Regions from separate parts of the Homo sapiens genome. Here regions 1, 2, 3, 4, 5 and 7 are each linked to region 6. Evidence: promoter capture Hi-C in 16 types of primary human blood cells and fetal thymus (Javierre and others, 2016). All regions are on one chromosome and are shown on one strand. The core of a region is centred on a gene start or on the middle of the fragment in contact, and the rest is flanking DNA. Distances in the headings are between cores, read along the strand shown. Region 1 has its middle 67 kb from the start of EMX2. Region 2 has its middle 41 kb from the start of PDZD8. Region 3 has its middle 14 kb from the start of PDZD8. Region 4 overlaps PDZD8 (PDZ domain containing 8). Region 5 overlaps LOC105378502 (a long non-coding RNA gene). Region 6 holds the start of SLC18A2 (solute carrier family 18 member A2). Region 7 holds the start of LOC105378502 (a long non-coding RNA gene).

What was found. Contacts are between HindIII fragments. The CHiCAGO score rates a contact against its expected background, and 5 or more counts as called.
Region 1: a fragment that was not itself captured here is called in contact with the fragment with the promoter of SLC18A2 in region 6 in 1 of 17 cell types (neutrophils); the score reaches 6.5 in neutrophils.
Region 2: a contact is called between a fragment that was not itself captured here and the fragment with the promoter of SLC18A2 in region 6, in 1 of 17 cell types (neutrophils). The highest score is 18.2, in neutrophils.
Region 3: a contact is called between a fragment that was not itself captured here and the fragment with the promoter of SLC18A2 in region 6, in 1 of 17 cell types (neutrophils). The highest score is 15.4, in neutrophils.
Region 4: a fragment that was not itself captured here is called in contact with the fragment with the promoter of SLC18A2 in region 6 in 2 of 17 cell types (neutrophils and fetal thymus); the score reaches 17.2 in neutrophils.
Region 5: a contact is called between a fragment that was not itself captured here and the fragment with the promoter of SLC18A2 in region 6, in 2 of 17 cell types (neutrophils and megakaryocytes). The highest score is 12.4, in neutrophils.
Region 7: a fragment that was not itself captured here is called in contact with the fragment with the promoter of SLC18A2 in region 6 in 2 of 17 cell types (neutrophils and megakaryocytes); the score reaches 10.0 in neutrophils.

Annotation. Positions count from the first base shown.
Region 1 is chr10:117,474,299-117,476,998 of GRCh38, reverse strand. No RefSeq gene overlaps it. Among named protein-coding and RNA genes, the nearest start is that of EMX2, 67 kb to the left of the region's middle. The HindIII fragment of the contact is 3,930 bases long and covers 1-2,700 here.
Region 2 is chr10:117,414,833-117,417,532 of GRCh38, reverse strand. No RefSeq gene overlaps it. Among named protein-coding and RNA genes, the nearest start is that of PDZD8, 41 kb to the right of the region's middle. The HindIII fragment of the contact is 6,430 bases long and covers 1-2,700 here.
Region 3 is chr10:117,388,289-117,390,988 of GRCh38, reverse strand. No RefSeq gene overlaps it. Among named protein-coding and RNA genes, the nearest start is that of PDZD8, 14 kb to the right of the region's middle. The HindIII fragment of the contact is 5,132 bases long and covers 1-2,700 here.
Region 4 is chr10:117,368,741-117,371,440 of GRCh38, reverse strand. The region is part of intron 1 of PDZD8 (PDZ domain containing 8); the gene reads left to right. Among named protein-coding and RNA genes, the nearest start is that of PDZD8, 5.3 kb to the left of the region's middle. The HindIII fragment of the contact is 3,952 bases long and covers 1-2,700 here.
Region 5 is chr10:117,451,952-117,454,651 of GRCh38, reverse strand. All of the region lies in intron 1 of LOC105378502 (a long non-coding RNA gene), which reads right to left. Among named protein-coding and RNA genes, the nearest start is that of PDZD8, 78 kb to the right of the region's middle. The HindIII fragment of the contact is 6,683 bases long and covers 1-2,700 here.
Region 6 is chr10:117,239,796-117,242,495 of GRCh38, reverse strand. It overlaps SLC18A2 (solute carrier family 18 member A2), which reads right to left and starts at 1,382. Exons shown (of 16, transcript NM_003054.6): 1 at 1,276-1,382; 2 at 682-817. The coding sequence starts at 802. SLC18A2-AS1 (SLC18A2 antisense RNA 1) reads left to right here and starts at 499. Exons shown (of 3, transcript NR_184310.1): 1 at 499-611; 2 at 713-835; 3 at 2,315-2,700. The HindIII fragment of the contact is 8,499 bases long and covers 1-2,700 here.
Region 7 is chr10:117,435,615-117,438,314 of GRCh38, reverse strand. It overlaps LOC105378502 (a long non-coding RNA gene), which reads right to left and starts at 2,084. Exons shown (of 3, transcript XR_946344.1): 1 at 1,991-2,084. The HindIII fragment of the contact is 2,613 bases long and covers 132-2,700 here.

The DNA of each region.
Region 1 (2,700 bases), core at 28-2,527, 230 kb before region 6:
CGGGTTAGGATACTTAAGGAGAGGCAAGTCAGGCAAGAAGCAGAAAGACAGGAAATGGAGAGATAGGAAGCAGAGAGACAGGAAGTGGAGGGACAGGAAGTGGAGAATCCAGCAGGGGCCAATGTTGGACAACACTCCTTTGCCAGCTGTGCTCCCCATGCAACGGGATGAGGAGATTTTAAGCCTCTACCAGAAAAACTCAAATCTGGAGATAATTTAATTTTTCCTGGGTCTCTGCCAGCCATCTCCAGAGTTTTGTCAAATTTTCCACCTACTTCCTCTGTGTGTGGAAACTCAGCCTCCATTTTAGAACTCCATTCCCAACAGTGGTTCTGCACCCCCACCCATGTTTTTTTGTTTGTTTGTTTGTTTGTTTGTTTTTGGTTATCCTGGAGGTTTTGTGGATTAAGATGTGTGAGATGAGGGGTTTATAGGGACTGGCTGGAGGTATGCCCCCCCTTCCACCCACACACCCACACACACATACACACGCACACGCTGTTGTGCAGAAGATGTTTCTTGGGTGGCTGAGCAAAGAATCAGGTATTTGGATGTCCTGATTTGACCCTGAGAAAAATAGCAGCCATCCACAGAGCTCTGAAACATACTTCCCACTGCTTGGAATGGCAGCTCCTCCTCAGAGTAAGTTGGAAATTTTTCTACTTTATTGCATAAATATAGAACCAAATCACACACTATATAAAGTTTTATATAGGAATATATAGATTTTAAAGTTCACGGTCTTCTCCTCTTTCCTTCTAATCCCACCACTCTCAGGATTACTATTTTGATGTGTATCATTGATTTTTTTATTCATGCTTTTTTAATGTAATGCTTATGAATACACATTCCCCTATTGGCTTTTCTCCCCCAGACAAAACTGGGACAAGCAATTAGCTTTTGAAAAATTTAACAATATATCCTGGCCATTGTTCCAGCTCAGGAGATATGGCTCTGACTCTTTTTTAACAGCTGCATAGCATCCTATTGTGTGGAGGTGCCATGATTTTATTAACCAGTCTTCTGTTGATGGACATTCAAATTGTTTCAGGTTTAGGGATTTTTGTTGGTTTGTTGGTGTGTTTCCTACTATTATAAATGACCCTGTAATAATTACTGTGCATCTCTCCTGCTGTACTGGCAGTTTTATTTTGTAGGACAAAGTTCTAAAAGTGGTCTAAAAGATTTACGCGACAGAGGAAACCTATGTTCAAATTGCAGTAGACACTGCCAGATAGCATCTCAGAAAGATCTTGCAATTCACACCCCTTCAGAATAAGTCTTCAACTCCAAAACCAGAGGGTGGTAATTTCTCAGGGAAGGCCTTTTTTTGGATTTCACTTTATATTTAGATAAAACATACAAAATTAGTTTATAAACTCTAAAGCATTTACAACTGAGATGTCAGCCGGTGATGATTTACTCCTAAATTCTAAGTAATAGCACTTCCAATCTCCATTCTACAGAATTTCCCTAAGCCATTGCCTCACCCAGGGTTTTGGAAGCTCCTGATGCAGGGTGAGAAGTGGGGGAGTTGATAGTTTTAAAGTCACTTCAAGCTCCTTACTGTAGCTCCAAACAGAAGAGAAAGAGATTGTATTTCTCTCCCTCTAATTATTGGAAAAAAGTCCTAAATTTTGCTCTAATTGGACCAACCTAGGTCGCAGGATTTGAGCCAATGTGAGTATGGCCTACCATGAATAAAGGGGAGAGGTTGAGGGGCATGAGTTCCTGGAGGTGGGCAGGGGCCTGAAATCATTCCATTTGGGTTCATTTCGTAATCCCACACATGCTGTTGTGGCCTGTGCCACACTAACCTAGACTTGGGACTGTGCCCTTTTCTATAATACATACATGTACACACCCTCCTCACATACAGTTATTCATAGTGTACAGACTACTGAAACTTTAGTGTACCTGGAAGGACTCACATCTTAGGACACATACAACTTAAAATTCAAAGTTCAATAAACCAGTTTCTAAAAATGCCCCGTCTTAGTCCTTTTAGTGTTGCTATCACAGAATAGCTGAAGATGGGTAATTTATTAAGAAAAGAGGTTTATTTGGCTCACAATTCTGATGGCTGGAAAGTCCAAGATTGGGCTGCTGCATCTGGTGAGGGCCTTAGGTAGCTTCCACTCATGGTGGAAAGAAGGGAAGGAAAAGTGCAAAGAGATCACAAGACAAGAAAAAGAATGAAACTGGGGAAGCCAGATTCTTTAACTACTTGCTCTTGCAGGAACTAATCCATTCCTGGAAGATTGAGAACGCACTCACTCCCTCAGGATGGCATTAGTCTGTTCATTAGGGATCCATCCCCATCCTCCATCTCCTATGGCCCCTCCCCAAACATTTCTGAAATGGAAGCCCTAGACTTCTGATCTTAACTAGATCCATTTTTTTTTTTTTCTTAGACAGAATCTCACTCTGTTGCCCAGGCTGGAGTGCAGTGATGCAATATCGGCTCACTGCAATCTCCACCTCCCAGGTTCAAGCAATTATTCTGCCTCAGCCTCCTCAGTAGCTGGGATTAAGATGCCCACCCCCATGCCCAGCTAACTTTTTTGTACTTTTAGTAGAGACAGGGTTTCACCATGTTGGCCAGGCTGGTCTTGAACTCCTGACCTCAGGTGACCCACCCACCTTGGCCTCCCAAAGTGCTGGGATTACAGGTGTGAGCCACCATGCCTGGCCTCATCT
Region 2 (2,700 bases), core at 14-2,513, 180 kb before region 6:
TGAAAGGAATATGTCTTTTCTGCATTTTGATGGCTTAACTTGTCTCTGCACCTTTCCGAAGTCTAGACTGTGGGAATGAGAAGCTCTCAGCAGCCTTCAAACACATCCACCAGGTCTCCATCTGTTTAGCCACTGCAGGGCTATTTCCTTTCTTTGGTCTTTTGAAAGGCAGCAGGCGGCATCTCTAAAAATAGTGGCATAAGTGAGTGTGCCTGTGGGCTGGGGGGCTCAAAGGGCCACTGTGAGTGCATTTATGGATTGCCATGTGTTATAGGGCCCCAGCTGAGAGGGACCACACAAAGCACAAGAAAGGGTCGTCAGAGATGTCAGCCACTCCTTGGTCCCCCAGGCAGCCAAAACCTCCGCCGGGGACCCGCACTGAGAACAGCAGCAGAGACTAAGCAGTGTCAAGTAAGGCTCTGCAGGGAGATTGCCTGCTTCTGCAGTCACTTCCTGGGTGACCCTGAGCACATTTTTCCACCTCCTTGAGCTCGTGTACTCACCTGTAAAATGGAAATAATTGGCCAGGTGCGATGTTTCATGCCTGTAATCCCAGCACTTTGGGAGGCCAACGTGGGAAGATCACCGGAGGTCAGGAGTTGGAGACCAGCCTGGCCAACATGGTGAAACCCTATCTCTACTAAAAATACAAAAATTAGCCAGGCATGCTGGCACATGCCTGTAATCCCAGCTACTCCGGAGGCTGAGACAGGAGAATGGCTTGAGCCCAGGAGGCAGAGGTTGCAGTGGGCCAAGATCATGCCACTGCACTCCAGCCTGGGTGACAGAGCAAGACTCTGTTTCAAAAAAAAAAAAAAAGGAAATAATCATAGGCAGTTGGTATGAAGACATTTTATATAACCACAATGGCATCATGATTACTTAAGAAAATGCCTATAACTTTTAGAAATACTTACTGAGTATGTAAAGATGAAATAACATGAGGCCTAGGATAGGCTTTAAAGTAATTCAGCAAAAATAAAGACAGGAGTTATTCCATTTACATTAAGGTCAGGAAGAGGCAGAACAAATCTATGGTGATTAAAAAAAATAAGATCATTGATTGCCTTTGGAAAAGGGTATCAAGGGAACTTTCTGGAGTACTGGAAATGTTCTACAACTTGATTTGAGTGCTGATAACATGGACATAAACATTTGTGAAAATTCATTAACCTGCAAATGGTTCAGAAAAATAATAATAGCATGTTGACAAAGATTCTTTGCTTAGCCAAACTTTATTCAGGCTTCTGATTCTCCTCCTAGGCCCATCTGTGTGCTTCCTATAAGGTCCAGTTTTAGCAAAGAACCTCACTAAGTCAGTTTAGCAAGAAACCCCTATCCTTGACATCTGACCAACCTCCAGCATTCCGCAGGTGATGTCTGATCAAGTTGGCCTATCTTTAGCAAGAATAGTGTTAGGTTCGTTTAGCTAGAATCTCCCTTACCCTTGCTGTTTCCTCTTAGTAATTTTCCATCCATTGACCCCACAGTGCTTCTGGGCTGTAAACTCCCACCTGCCCATGTTGTATTCAGAATTAAGTTCAATCTCTCTCTCTCACTGCAAGACCCTGTTACAGTGGCCCCTATACCTATGGTCCTGAATAAAGTGTTCCTTAGTGTGTTTTGACAAGTATCATTGAATAATTATTTCTTTCTTTCTTTCTTTCTTTCTTTTTTTTAAGACAAGGTCTCACTCTGTCATCCAGGCTAGAGTGAAGTGGCACAACCATAGCTTACTGCAGCCTCCATCACCCAGGCTCAAGTGATCCTCCCACTTCAGCCTCCACGCCTGGCTACTTTTTCTTTTTCAGTAGACACAAGGTCTCACTATGTTGCCTAGGCTGGTCTTGAACTCCCGTGCTCAAGTGATCCTCCCACCTTAGCCTCCCAAAGTATTGGGATAACAGGTGTGAGCCACTGCACCTGGCATAATTGTTTTTTTAACAGTGTGTGTATTCAGAAAAATATTAACAATGTGTATGTGGATAAAGTTTGATGAGTAATGATAAAAACAAGAATGATAAAATGTTAACACTTGGGGAATCTTAGTGAAGGGTATATGGAAATTCTTTGTATTATTTTACAACTTTCTGTAAGTATGAAATTATTTCAAAATAATAAAAGTTTAAAAATTCATCAAACCATACACTTTAAATTGGTTGATGAATTTTACTGTGTACAAATTATACATCAAAGTAAAAGTTAAAAACGAGACTAGAAAGCAAATGTAGCAAAATCTTGATAAATGCTGAGTCCCTGAGTGATAGATGTATGGAGGTTCATTTTACCATCTTGTCTGCTCTTGTGTATGCTTGGCTATTTTATTTTCTTTCTTTCTTTTTTTTTTTTTTTTGAGATGGAGTTTCACTCTTGTTGCCCAGGCTAGAGTGCAATCGCACGATCTCGGCTCACTGCAACCTCCGCCTCCCGGATTCAAGCGATTCTCCTGCCTCAGCCTCCTGAGTAGCTAAGATTACAGGCATGTGCCGTCATGCCTGGCTAATTTTGTATTTTTAGTAGAAAAGGAGTTTCTTTATGTTGGTCAAGCTAGTCTCGAACTCCTGACCTCAGGTAATCCACCCGCCCTGGCCTCCCAAAGTGCTGGGATTACAGGCGTGAGCCATCGCGCCCAGCCTATGCTTGGCTATTTTCTAATGCAAAATAAATTTTAAAAAATTAAAACAATTGAAAATATCGGCT
Region 3 (2,700 bases), core at 157-2,656, 150 kb before region 6:
CCATTGCATCAGTCTGACTTTCTCTTTTGTCTCTCTCTTCCACTTTTAAGGACCTTTGTGATTACATTGGGTCCAGTTGGATAATTCAGAATAATCTCTTTATCTGAAGATCAGGTGATTAGCAACCTTAATTCCTCCCACAACAGTAACGCCCCTTTGCCACGTAACGTAATATATCCACAGGTTTTGGGGATTAGGATGTGGACAACTTTGGGGGCCATTATTCTGGGCCCCCCCACAAGAAACCACTGGTACGTTTCAAACAGTTGAGTGGCATGATCCGACTTGTGGTTTACCATGGTCACTGTGGTGTCTGTGTTGAAACAGACATTAGGGTAGCAAAGGCCAGAGAGACCTTTAAGTAGAGAGGCCAACTAAGAGACCACTCCAATAATCAGGCCAAATATGGTGCTTGAACCATGATAGTGAATGCGGTGAGAAGTGGTGAAACTCTGAATATATTTTGAGGGTAAAACCAATAGGATGTGTTGCAAGTGTGAATGCAGATAAGAGAGAAAGGAGTCAAGGATAGCACAAGGCTTTTGGCCTGAGCAACTGGAATGACAGAGGTACCATTGATAAATATGGCGGGAAATGCCCAAGGAACTCTCATGGGATGGATATTCGCTCAGTCTTACACACAGTAAGTCATCTCACACCAAGGTGGAGATGGCTGGTAGGCTGTTGGATATATGGGTTTCCTAGAGGAGCTCAGAGTGAGTAAATGCATTTGGAAGCATACACATATGAATAGCATTTAAAGGTAGGAGGCTGGATGAGATCACCTAAGGACTGAATGAAAGTAGAGATGAGGTGAATATGCTCTTGGGCCCCAAAAGTTACACTGATCTCCACACAGTAGATTTAGATCCACTGGCAGTCTCAAGGACTTGCCATCTCCAAGCATGTTGCTGCTGCAGCAATGTTATTCTCTTCCAGAGTTACTTACCTTCCCTGGCTTTGCCAGAGGAGCAGAGCCAGCAGTGATCCCTCCTCTCCCAGCATGATAGGACGTTCTGGTGTCAGTGTTGGCTCCCCTCTACAAAGCCTCTTCCTTCAAACAAGTGGTCTTAGGGCTTCAGGAGAAGGTGGCTCTTTCTCACCAAAGTGGAGAGTAGGTCATGTAAATTCATTCACTTAATAAATACCAGTTGAGTACTTACTATGGGCGAGGCCCTGTGCTGAGTGCTGGGAAACTGTGGTTTACAAGACACACATTGTACAAGTGATGATAGTAAAGTGTGGTGAATACTGTGTCAGGAGTGTATTTGGCTGCTAGTAACAGAGACCTGTAATAGTAGTTTGACAGCTTAAGGGGAATTTTTTTATGTAAAAAAAAAGTTCCAAGGTGGGTATTGCAAAGTTGAGTTCAGCTTCAGTGTCATCAGTGTTCTGAGCTTATTCTGTCTTTCTGCTCAACCATCTTCAGTGTGTGGCATCTATCCTCAAGGTTACCACATGATTATAAAGTGGCCACTGAAGTTCCAGCCATCACATCTGAATTCCAGGCCAGGGGAGGGAGAGGGAAGTACAAAAGAGATATGGAGATAATAAATCAAAATCCTTTGTTGAGCTCCCACCCAAAAATTTTGCTTATATCTCATTGGCCACTCTTATCTGCAAGGCTGGTTGGGAAATGTCATTTTTAAAATCTGAACAATTTGCTGTTCCCAAATTCTTCTTTGAAATGAGTGAATGGATATGGACGAAGCAAGTAGCAGTCTCTGCCATAAGCACCAGGATGAGGGAACATATATTGGATGTTATATGAGGATATAGCAAGGGATAAGCCTTGGTTAGGGCCAGGGGAGTCTCCTAAAGAGGAAGATTTCAGTCTACACTTTAAGGGTAGGGTTACCTGCAAAGAGAAGAGGCAGAGAGTTTCAGGTGGAAGAAGCAGCATGTGCAAAGGCCTGGAGATACCAGAAAGAAGTCAGCACAGGAGGAAGCACAAGAGCTCAGGCAGGCTGGAGCAAACTCTGTGACGGGGAAAGGGGAAAGTGAAGGGATGGATTGTGAAAGGCCTGAAGGATGTTACTGGGAACTAGTACTTCATCCTTAAGCCTAAGGGCAGCTGTAGAAAAACTTTAAGGAGGAATCAGCTTAATGTGTCCTGAGGGCAGAGTAGAGAATAAAGTAAGGCGAGGAAAGCCGAAGGTAGGTAGACCAATTAGGAGGCAATGGCAGGATTAAAGCAAGAGATAACAATGGCCCAGACTGGGGTATTTCAGGGGATGGAGAGAAGTGGACTGGCTTGCACAACAATTTACGAGGAATATAAATGCTGATTTAAGGCCTCGGCTATCTAAAAACGGTTTGATTATTGTTGTCCCAGGAAGGGGACCCATCAAAATGACCTTCTGCGAAGCCTCACAACTCCAGGGTTTAGTTCAGGTTCTGAATTGTAGTGAAGGAGAATGGAAATTAGCAAACAGCCTCAAATGAAAGATAAGCAGTTTTGAGACTGGTAAGTAACAGTATTAAAGTGTAAAGCAGATAGAATTTACAGCTATTGTTAGACTCTCCTGAAAGTGTTATTAGAGTCAGTTTTTCACTTCCATTGAGAAAGAGAAAATAACCAATATTTTGTGAAGCGAGCATGGAAAAAGTATGAGGACAAGATGAAAAAGAGACACCAGGAGTTAGGACCCCAGGATTATGATCCGGGCTGTGATACTGTCTTGCTGGGTAGCTTGAGAG
Region 4 (2,700 bases), core at 159-2,658, 130 kb before region 6:
GGCTGAGACAGGCGGATTACTTAAGGTCAGGAGTGTGAGACCAGCCTGGCCAACCTGATGAAACCCCGTCTCTAGTAAAAATGCAAAAATTAGCTGGGCGTGGTGGCGGGCGCCTGTAATCCCAGCTACTCTGGAGGCTGAGGCAGGAAAATGGCTTGTACCTGGGAGGCAGAGGTTGCAGCCAGCCGATATCGCACCACTGCACTCCAGCCTGGGCGACAGGGTGAGACTCCGTCTCCAAAATAAATAAGTAAATAAATAAATAAACAAACTGGTGATGATGTGGGACTGATTCAAGTTTCAGATAAGAATGAATTACAATACATCTAAGATATAGCATACTTCTCACAGGGAAAATTAAACTAGCTAGTGTTCATCTTTTTTTACAGATGAGGAAATGGAGCTCGGAGTAGTTAAATAACTTGCTTAAAGTCACACAGCTTTCAAGTGTTGAAACGCAGCTCTGATAAGGCCAGGCCACCTTTAAACACACACACACACACACACACACACACACACACAAACTATGTTGTTCTTAAGTGATTTATTTTTTAAAAGCATGCCATCGATATAGTAAATATGTGGGATATCTTTCCAAACTAACCTAGAACTCTTGAGAAGAGTATGACTATAAAGCTGATTTTTTTTTCTTAAATTGGTCATTTTAGAGGATCCTTTTAAAAGTAAATCATGAGGCTAAATCTTTGGGTACTGTCCCACGTGGCATTTCTTTTTTAATTGAGCAGAATTGTGTTTCCAAATAGAAGAGACAGGTTTCACCATGTTGGCCAGGCTGGTTTCGAACTCCTGACTTCAGGCAGTCTACCCACCTCGGCCTCCCAAAGTGCTGGGGTTACATGTGTGAGCCGCTGTGCCCGGCCTAGTTTATTCTTTTTTAGCTATCTAATCTTCTTAGTAGAGCTAAAGCAGTAAAGAGAATTGTATGGAGTCTTACGATCCTTTGGCATTTGTAATCATTACATAACAAATATCTTGCCAGTTAACGTTGTTATTACTTCTTTCCCCCTTCATTTATTTTGCCTTTTTCGTGTTGCTAAAGTGAATCAGCCTCTCTGGACTGCCAGTTCCTGATGTTTCACCTAGAGATGCTAAGTTGCTCAAGTGGTTGCTTTCTAAGGACCCAGCTGACTGACATTTCATTTTACCCAAGTTAACAAACTTACAATGTTTGTAAAACATTTTATTTTACAAAATGAATTATAATATGTAGACAATATGTTTACAGATTTATTCAAGTTAGGAATTTCATTCATCCACCTCAATGTTAATTGGTTTGATTTTTTAATTAAAATAGTATATTATAATAGCAATATATTTTTTTAAATGAACCTCAGAATCCATCCTCAAGGGAGAAAGATTACCACTAATGTTCTTTTACTACGTGGATAATTCATCTTAAACATGGAGTCTGAGTAATAGTGTCTGGGTGGGGAGCTCTGTTTAGGGTTTAGGAGTCAAATATTTGAGATTCTTACGGATGCTTGTGTTCCTGGAGTATTATTGTATATAGACAAGCAGATTCAGTTTGCAGGTACTTTTAATTTGGCCTGCACTGTTTAAAAAATGGAAAATTCTGTGTGTTTTGGATTTGTGGCTTCTGTTAGGAAAAATTGGAATATCTTGTAGCGCCAGTGCTGCATTTCTCAGAGCAACAACAGGATGGAGAGATGGACTGTAGTAGCAGCTTTGGGGTTGAAACTCGGTGTGTAAGCTCCTAGGTGGAGTTTATAGTCCCCCCTTATTTGCTGTGCTTAATTGATGGTACTTGCCTGGCTTGGAGTTATATGAATTTGAGACCCGTACTGGAGGAGTAAATAGGGAGCATTACTGTTGCTGATTAGTGAAAATGAGAAGACTTAATAGCTGGAGTGGAGAGGGAGAGTGATCATTTTTATCCTTCTTTTAATTACATTTTTGAAGGGACTGTCATAGAGCAATTTTATTTTTTAAAAGACATTGTTGGCCAGGTGCGGTGGCTCACTCCTGTAATCCCAGCACTTTGGGAGGGCAAGGCAGGCGGATCACTTGAGGTCAGGAGTTCGAGACCAGCCTGGTCAACATGGCGAAACCCCATCTTTACTAAAAATACAAAAATTAGCTGGGCATGGTGGCACATGCCTGTAATTCCAGTTACTCAGGAGGCTGAGGCAGGAGAATCGCTTGAACCCGAGAGGCAGAGATTGCTGCAAGCCGAGATCATACCACTGCACTCCAGCCTGGGCAACAGAGCAAGACTCTATCTCAAAAAGTAAAAATAAATAAATAAATAAATAAAAGACATTGTCAGGCCTGGCGTGGTGGCTGATGCCTGTAATCTCAGCACTTTGGGAGGCCAAGGTGGGTGGATCACTTGAGGTCAGGAGTTCGAGACCAGCCTGGCCAACATGGTGAAACCCCGCTTCTACTAAAAATGGCACGCACCTGCAGTCCCAGCTGCTGGGGATGCTGAGGCATGAGAATTGCTTGAACCCAGGAGGCGGAGGTTGCAGTGAGCCAAGATTGCGCCACTGTATTCCAGTCTGGGCAACAGAGTGAGACTGTCTCAAAAAAAAAAAAAAAAAAAAAAAACATTGTCAATATAATGTTGAATTTTAAAAAGTCACTCTGCCAGAAAAAAAAAAATGCCTTGAAATGCAATCCATTTTTCTACCATGTAGTGATGGTAAGTAGATAGTGTCT
Region 5 (2,700 bases), core at 144-2,643, 210 kb before region 6:
AACTGTACTGACTCCATCAGAACCCCTGCCTCCCTGAGCAGGGAGAGGTGAGGAGTGGCAGATGTTGTTGGCTGCCTACCCCACAGCCATCCCCTTCCCCAGTCCATGCCTCTACACTCTTTCTTGCTGAATAGAACTCCCATTCTGTTCAGGAAACAAGGACTGTGTGTTCCATAGCAACCTGGGCCCCAGTCCTAGCCCTGGCCCCAGGAAGGAATCTTGATCAGTGAGGCAAGAGGTATGCCTGCCTCCCCGAAATGTCCTGATCCCAGAGGTGAGCAGAGTCACAGGTTCAAGGAGTTCCTAGTACTTCCCCTAGTACTACAGCTGAAGCCCTTTCCCCAGCCAGTGCAGCCTCTGGCATCTGAGGCAGATCCCAGCAGAGGATACCGGTGGCTGGAGATGTCTGCCTGGTCCCTCTAGGGTTCCAGCCTTTACTTTGGTCTCATGCTTGCTCTACTGCTCACTGTGGCTGGCTCTGAGAGGTAGGATTAGAGCCCAGGAGGCAAGTATGTCCACGTTTTACTTTAATCACATCTGGCTGACCTGGTTGCAATGAAATCCCTTAAAATGAAGGTGGGGATTGGTGGAGAACAGGAGGGGGTGGGAGGGTGTGGTCAAAAGAGACTTCCAGGACTTGCCTACAGCAAAAACATCCTGGGTTGAGGCAGGTGGAGGAAAGAGTGGTGCCCAGACCTTGGGTTCTTTCCCTGTCCCTTCTTGCTTCCAAACCCTGGCTTTGGTACCCACAGGCTGAACCCACTGATATGGTTTTGCTGTGTCCCCACCCAAATCTCATCCTGAATTCCCACGTGTTGTGGAAAGGACCTGGTGGGAGGTAATTGAATCATGGGGGCAGGTCTTTCCTGTGCTGTTCTCGTGATAGTGAATAAGTCTCATGAGATCTGATGGTTATTATAAGGGGGAGTTTCCCTGCACAAGCTCTCTCTCTGCCTGCTGCCATCCATGTAAGACATGACTTGCTCCTTGTTGCCTTCTGCCATGATTGTAAGGCTTCCCCAGCCACGTGGAACTGTAAGTCCAATTAAACCTCTTTCTTTTGTAAATTGGGCCAGTCGTGGGTATGTCTTTATCAACAGCATGAAAACGGATGAATACACCCACCCTTGCCCTTTCAAGTCTTGTTTCTTCTGTCCATGAGGCTTATTCAGAGGCTATATTCAGACCCTAACTCCAAAGCCAGTCTGGGAGCAGAGCCTGGGTGAAGCCAAAGTTGCCTCTATTTGATTCTTTTCTGTGCTACTCATGGTCTTGCTCTAACACTGCTTCTACCATTGCCTTTTTAAAAGATCTAATAAGTGATTCTTAGATATGCCAAAGAGGTGTAAAATATAACATAATTCATACCTGCATGCCCACCATTCAGCTTAAGAAACAAAGCATTTACCAATGGAGTTGAAGCTGATCCATTCTCTCTTCCCCCTTCTCAAAATCAGCTGACTCTTGTGCCTATCATATGGATTAAGTTTGACTACAAATAACAGAAAACCCAAAATAGTTACTCAAGTGAGCTAGAAGTTTACTGACCCTTGTAAGAGAGAGCTGGAGGGAAGCAGTTCAGGGCTTCTGTGGGAGCTCCACAGTCCCAGGACCAGCCGTCCCTGAGCTGCCACCTGCAGCACCATTTACACCTCCTGGACCAAGAGAGCTGCCACACTCCAGCCATCTCATCTACTTCAAGCCAGCAAAAAAGGAGAAATGAAGGAAAGAAGGGCATGTCACCTGCCTTAAGGGGACTTATTGAAAGTTGTACACTATGCTTCCCTTACATCCTATTGGCCAGAACTTGTCACAAGGCCACACCCAGTTGTGGGAGAAGCTAGAAGATGTTATTTTTATTCCAACGGGCTATGTGAAAAGGAGAGTGAAATTGGGAGACCCCTAGTGGTCTCTGCCACATCGTAGTCTTAACCAATATGCCGGCTTAGGACAGTAAATTGCTGAGGAATGGAGGAATGTTGCTTTTTAATTTTTTTAATTTTATTTATTTATTTATTTTTGAGACGGAGTTTCACTCTTGTCACCCAGGCTGCAGTGCAATGGCGCGATCTTGGCTCACTGCAACCTCCACCTCCTCGTTTCAAGCTATTCTCCAGCCTCAGCCTCCTGAGTAGCTGGGATTACAGGCATGCACCACCACGCCCGGCTAATTTTGTATTTTTAGTAGAAACAGGGTTTCACCATGTTGGCCAAGCTGGTCTCAAACTCCTGACCTCAGGTGATCCACCCGCTTCGGCCTCCCAAAGTGCTGGGATTATGGGCACGAGCCATCGCGCCCAGCCAGATGTTGCTTTTTTAAAAAAATTTTTAATATATGCCAAAAAAAAAGGATACAGATAATAGAGCTCAAAGAAATCTCATAAATGAATCATGATATAGACTGTAACCAACACCCCAGAAAGGCCACCTCCTGCCAAACAAGAGTCTGATTAGAAAATAAAATCCCAGGTTAGTAGCTGTCTCATTCCATGTTGGTTCATGAGAATTTAGTTTGCATCACTCCTTGTTCTTAGAGGACTAAGTTTCCAAATCCTTGTTCTTAGAGGACTATGTTTTCAGTTTCTGGTAATACTGGTAAGTGTTTCTCTTGATGAACGAGCTGAAACTGAAGGTGAATTTCCCTTTAGAAAAATCACGATCCACAGGGGGTTATATCCATGGATTTAGTTATAAGCTACA
Region 6 (2,700 bases), core at 133-2,632:
AGTCTAAATGAGTCGTGATTTTTTTTTCATTCATTAAAAACTGGGATTTTTTTTTTTAAGGAAATGCATGCCAAATACTTCTCTGTTAATGGGCCTAATTAAGGGACCTGGATTTCGATTATTTAATTTTTCAAAATTCCACTATAGGAAAAATAATAGAACCAAGATTGTTCAAATTGTTCTTGCAATGGTTCCTGAAATATTTCCATCTCAAGTCATTCACTAATACAGTATATCTAAATGTCTTGTTTTTGGAGTAAGGGATCGAAACTTGCTCTTTTAGGTACTACACCAAATTACTAACCTGCCTTTTCGAGTAGCCCAATAATTATTCTAACACGTAATTTTGAACTTTAGGAATTTCTCTTTTGGAACAGAAATCTTTTTCATCGCAGTGAAAGCAGGCAAGAGGATGCGGGAAATTATCAGGGGGAAACATAAGTTCTGGGTCTTATCGGATGTCACAGTTTTTGACCCGAGCATCAGGAAAGCGAAGCCACACAACGCGGCTCCTCCTAGCCCCGGCGCGGCAGCCTGGAGGGGATGTCTTTTTTGCAAAGCGAGTTCTCCAACTTTCCCGGGCCTTGGCGGAGCTCCGGGACCGCGCAGGGGTAAGTGGAGTGCCGGGGAAGGGGCGCTGGGGCTGGGGTGCCGGGGCAGGGGTGCCCTGTCCGCACGTACCCACGACAGTGAGCAGCATGTTGTCCAGCAGCAGCGCCAGGAACACGATGAACAGGATGAGCTTCCGCGAGCGGCGGCTCTCCTGCAGCCAGCGGACCAGCGCCAGCTCGCTCAGGGCCATGGCTCCGGGGCTCCGCTGCGGGCGCGGTGCGCGGTGAGGACCCAAGGCGGCCGTGGACCCCCCATTCTCCCGTCCCCCAGGCCGCGGAAGGGCGGGTCAGGGAGCCGCGCGCACCGGCATCCGGGGACACCCCCGGGCGCCCCAGCCTCGGCTCACCTGCCTCGAGCGCGTCCCCACGAGAGCCCGCGCTCCCTGGAAAGAGCGCCCGCGAGCGCCGTCGGGGACCCAATCTGGAGACCCAACCTAGAACCCCCAGGACGCTGCCCTGATCCCCGCCGCCCCCAACTGTGCCACCTCCCAAACTGCACGCTCGGCCCCGTGCACCTTGCGCCCTGCGCCCTGCGCCCCGGCTGCCCCGGGGTCCCCGCAGCCCCGCCCGCGTAGCTCTGGGGGCCTCCCTGCCTCCCTGCCTCCCCCGGGCCCGCTCCCCTCCGGCACCGCGCCCTGCGAGCAGGGAACCGGGGCCGTGTTACCTCGGGGTCGCTTGCGATGCCTGCCCGGGTCCTCCGTGCCCGCGCCAACGCCCGCACCGCAGTGGGCTCCGTCAGTCCGGGCGGCTCCGGGTCGCAGTCTCCGCCCCAGCGCCCCGCCGCCGCCGCTCAGTTTACCCCGTCCGGCTCTGACGTCACGGCCGGAGGGAGCGGGGGCGGGGGGCTGGGGCGCCCCGGCCTCCGCCCGCCCGCGCCGTCGCTGCGCAGGAGGGGCTGCCGCCTCCCTGTCCCCGCCTCGGCCGCGGCCGCGCCTCTTCCCCGGACCCAGCGCGTGGCCGAGTGCCTTGGGGACCCAGGCCTGGGGAAGAGGCAGGGGCGCAGAGGGAAAGAGGTCAGAGAGCCTGGACGAAGAGTGAAGGGCCAGGGACCAAGGCGAGGAGGCACGGACCAGGGCTTTCTTGTGGCTCCAAGTGGTGGCTCGAGCTGCTTTGAATAAATCACGTGGCTCTTTGAGCCTCAGTGTCCCTGAAATGGGCCGTGAGGACGGGAATGATGGCCGCGGGGTGAGATCGCCAGGGGTGACAGGTGCTGGGAGCCAGGGACAGGCTTCCCTTTCCTGAAGAAGCCACCCTTTGCACCCACCATCCCCTCCCCTCTCCGACCTCTGCAGCCCGATGCGGGGTGCCACTCGGAGGAGCCTTTGAGCCTTGGGCATCCTCAAGCTGGTGACTTGGAAACGGGGGGGGGAAGGGGACACTTTTCAGTGTCGCCCTATGGTGGGAGTTGGGGAGGTGAGGGTCCCAGGTCTCAGAAAGTGGGAGCAGTGGGTTTGGGCCTCTGGGGCCACCTGAGCAGGGGACCCTGGAGGCTAGGTGAGTACACCTGGCCTCAGAGAAAGGGCTAGGGGGCGGGCTGTGGGCGGGGCAGCAGGCCTAGGCCCTGTGTCCTGTACTCTCTCCCCACCATGCTGTGCCTGGGCGTCTGGGTGAGAGGTGGTTCCTAGAGCCAGGGGCCTGCGTGTGGCTGGTGCAGAGCTGTCATCCTCACTGCTAAGGGCTAAGAGCCTGCCTTTGATTTCCAGGTCCCTTTTATAAGCAAAGGAGAAACAAACAGATGCCCTCTGACATCGCTGGAGCTCTGCAGGCCCTCCGAGGGGACCGTGGGAGCAAGAGCTGTTTTCTTGAAAAGCTACCTAGAATAAATGTTACCCTGTCACAGTCTCTTAGCAGAAGAGTGGGCTTGTTTTATTAATGTTAGCTTGTTGACAGCAGGAGGCCACTGAGAACAGCAGTGTGATGTGTGGCTGCCCCCGCTCTCTCCACCTCCCTACTCCCTTGCAGAGACCCCCTGTGCTTCTCATTGCTACCCCATGTGTGAGAAGAGATGGTTGAATAGGTAAGTAGGTCAGGAACATGGGTCTCCAGGATGTCACAGGATGTGCACAACTTAAACATTAAACAGGGAGGA
Region 7 (2,700 bases), core at 189-2,688, 200 kb before region 6:
ATGGCCTCAGGATCCTTCTCAACACAATACTCCAGTCATCCACTACTAACCAATCAAAGTCCACAAGGATACCTATTTGTTATTTCCTGCCTAAATTCCTATTGCTAAACCATCCTCCAAAAGCCCAAGCTTTTAGTTTCTTTAAACATGCATGCAACTGCTTCCTTTAAGAGAGAGAGAGGAGAGAGAGAGAGAGAGAGAATATAAAGCTGAAGCCCTAAGCAAGATGAAATGGCAGACACCATTACCCTCCAAAATTGGATTTATAATGGAAACAGAAACTGATTATGGTGGTGAGCTCTGCCATTATGAATTAGTTTAAAAAGAAATAACTGCAGCTGGGCACAGTGGCTCATGCCTGTAATCTCAGCATTTTGGGAGGCCAAGACGGGCGGATCACAAGGTCAGGAGATCAAGACCATCCTGGCTAACACGGTGAAACCCTGTTTCTACTAAAAATACAAAAAATTAGCCGGGCGTGTTGGTGGGCACCTGTAGTCCCAGCTACTCAGGAGGCTGAGGCAGGAGAATGGTGTGAACCTGGGAGGCAGAGCTTGCAGTGAGCTGAGATCGTGCCACTACACTCCAGCCTGGGGGACAGAGCAAGACTCCGTCTCAAAAAAAAAAGAAAAGAAAAGAAATAACTGCATGCAAAAATAGTCATATGACATCTCATAAAGGAGAGAATCTGTCTACCTTGACATATTTTCCTCTGAGAAAACTCCAGCTCAAGGTGAGGCAAGCCAAAACTTGCATGTCTGGATGAATGAAAGCCACATGGGCTGACCACCATCCGCCTCCACAGTCATCACCTACCCACAGATTCCCCTGACACTCATCCTACTTGCCATGCAGCTTGTTAGGAATTTGGAAGGTACGCTTTTTTTTTTTTTTTTTTTTTTTGAGACAGAGCCTTGCTCTGTCACCCAGGCTGGAGTGCAGTGGTGCGATCTCGGCTCGCTGCAACCTCCACCTCCCAGGTTCAAGCAATTCCCCTGCCTCAGCCTCCCAGGTAGCTGGGACTACAGGTGTGCACCACCATGGCTGGCTAATTTTTTGTATTTTAGTAGAGACAGGGTTTCACCATGTTGGCCAGGATGCTCTCAACTCCTGACCTCATGATCCGCCCACCTCAGCCTCCCAAAGTGCTGGGATTACAGGCGTGAGCCACCACGCCTGGCCGGAAGGTAGATTTTAACCACTCAATTAAAGTGTTCAAGGAAAAACAGAAGCAAAAAAAGCACATATAAAACCCCCTCTAGTTCTAAACTGGCTCTCTTCCATCTGATCGCTGGGGACGCAAGGCCAACAGCAGATCATACTTGTGACAGGGCGAGTGGCCCTGAAAAGTGCCTCTCTTCCTTTCTGAGCCCCAGGGTCCTGTCCCTGCCCTCAAGCAAGAAAACAATCAGTAGTAGTTGGAGAGGCCCACTCTATGGCTAAAGGCCCCAGGATTAAGAATGAGCAGACTTGGTTCCAGTCTCAGGGATGCCACCTATTATTGGCAGGTCACCTCACATCTCTGAGCCCATTTACTCATCTGTGTGATGGGAACAATAATAAAGATGGCATGGAGGGAGCTGGGTAGATCAAAGGTGGTGATGGATGAGAAACTGGGAACCCTGTCTTCACGGCTGTGCCAGAAGCCACTGGCAAAATATCAAACAGAACAAGCAAACAATCAGCTTTCCTAATGTCAGCTACCCAGCTTTCTCAAATGCAGAGAATCCCAGACTGTGTAGCTGCCCTTCCCTGCAAGGCAGGGATCAGGCCCTAGTGATTGGGACCATACTTCATGGAGCTGTGTTCCATACCATCTGCTTGTAAACAACTCAAATAAAAGAGTAATAGCTAACCTTACCAATACTGCACTACAAACCAGCAACTGCACTAAGTGTTTTAGAAACAATGCTATGAAGTAGGTAGAAGGCATTCTTGTTCTCATGTTACAGACAAGGAAACTGAGGCACAGAGTGGTTAAGTAGCTTACCCAAGGTTTCCCAGCCAGCCAGTGGCAGATTTGGGACTCACACCGACAGAAACCAGTTGTGGAGGCTTTCGTCGTTAGGTCACGCTGCCTCTCCAGAAAATGAGGATGGCTGGAAAAAAGTAGGGGCAAACAGTTCAGTCACAAAGAGTCTCTCTCCCTCCACTTCTTACATTTTGGGAGCAGGAGTTTCAACCTTACACTGGAAGGAGATAAATGAACTTGAGCTGCAGGTAAAAACGTGCAAATCTCACATTTGATGTCAAGCATTGTGTTGAGTGAAAAAGCAGAAGAATGATACACTATGATGTTATGTACATACCAAAAAAAATTTTTTGAGACAGAGTCTTGTTCTGTCACCCAGGCTGAAGTGCCATGGCACTCATAGCTTACAGCAGCCTCAACTTCCCAGGCTCAAGTGGTTCTCCCACCCCAGCCTCCCAAGTAGCTGGGACTACAGGCATGTACCACCACATGCAGCAAATTTTTTATTTTTGTAGAGACAGGGTCTCACTATATTGCCCAGGCTGGTCTCTAACCCCTGGGCTCAAGTGATCCTCCTGCCTCAGCCTCCCAAAGTGCTGGGATTACAGGCATGAGTCATCTTGCCCAGCCCACAGAGTTTTAAAACATATAAAAGATTATGTATTACCTAGAGATTCATACACAAACGGCAACAGCATCAAGACATTCCTGGGAATGATGAACATCTC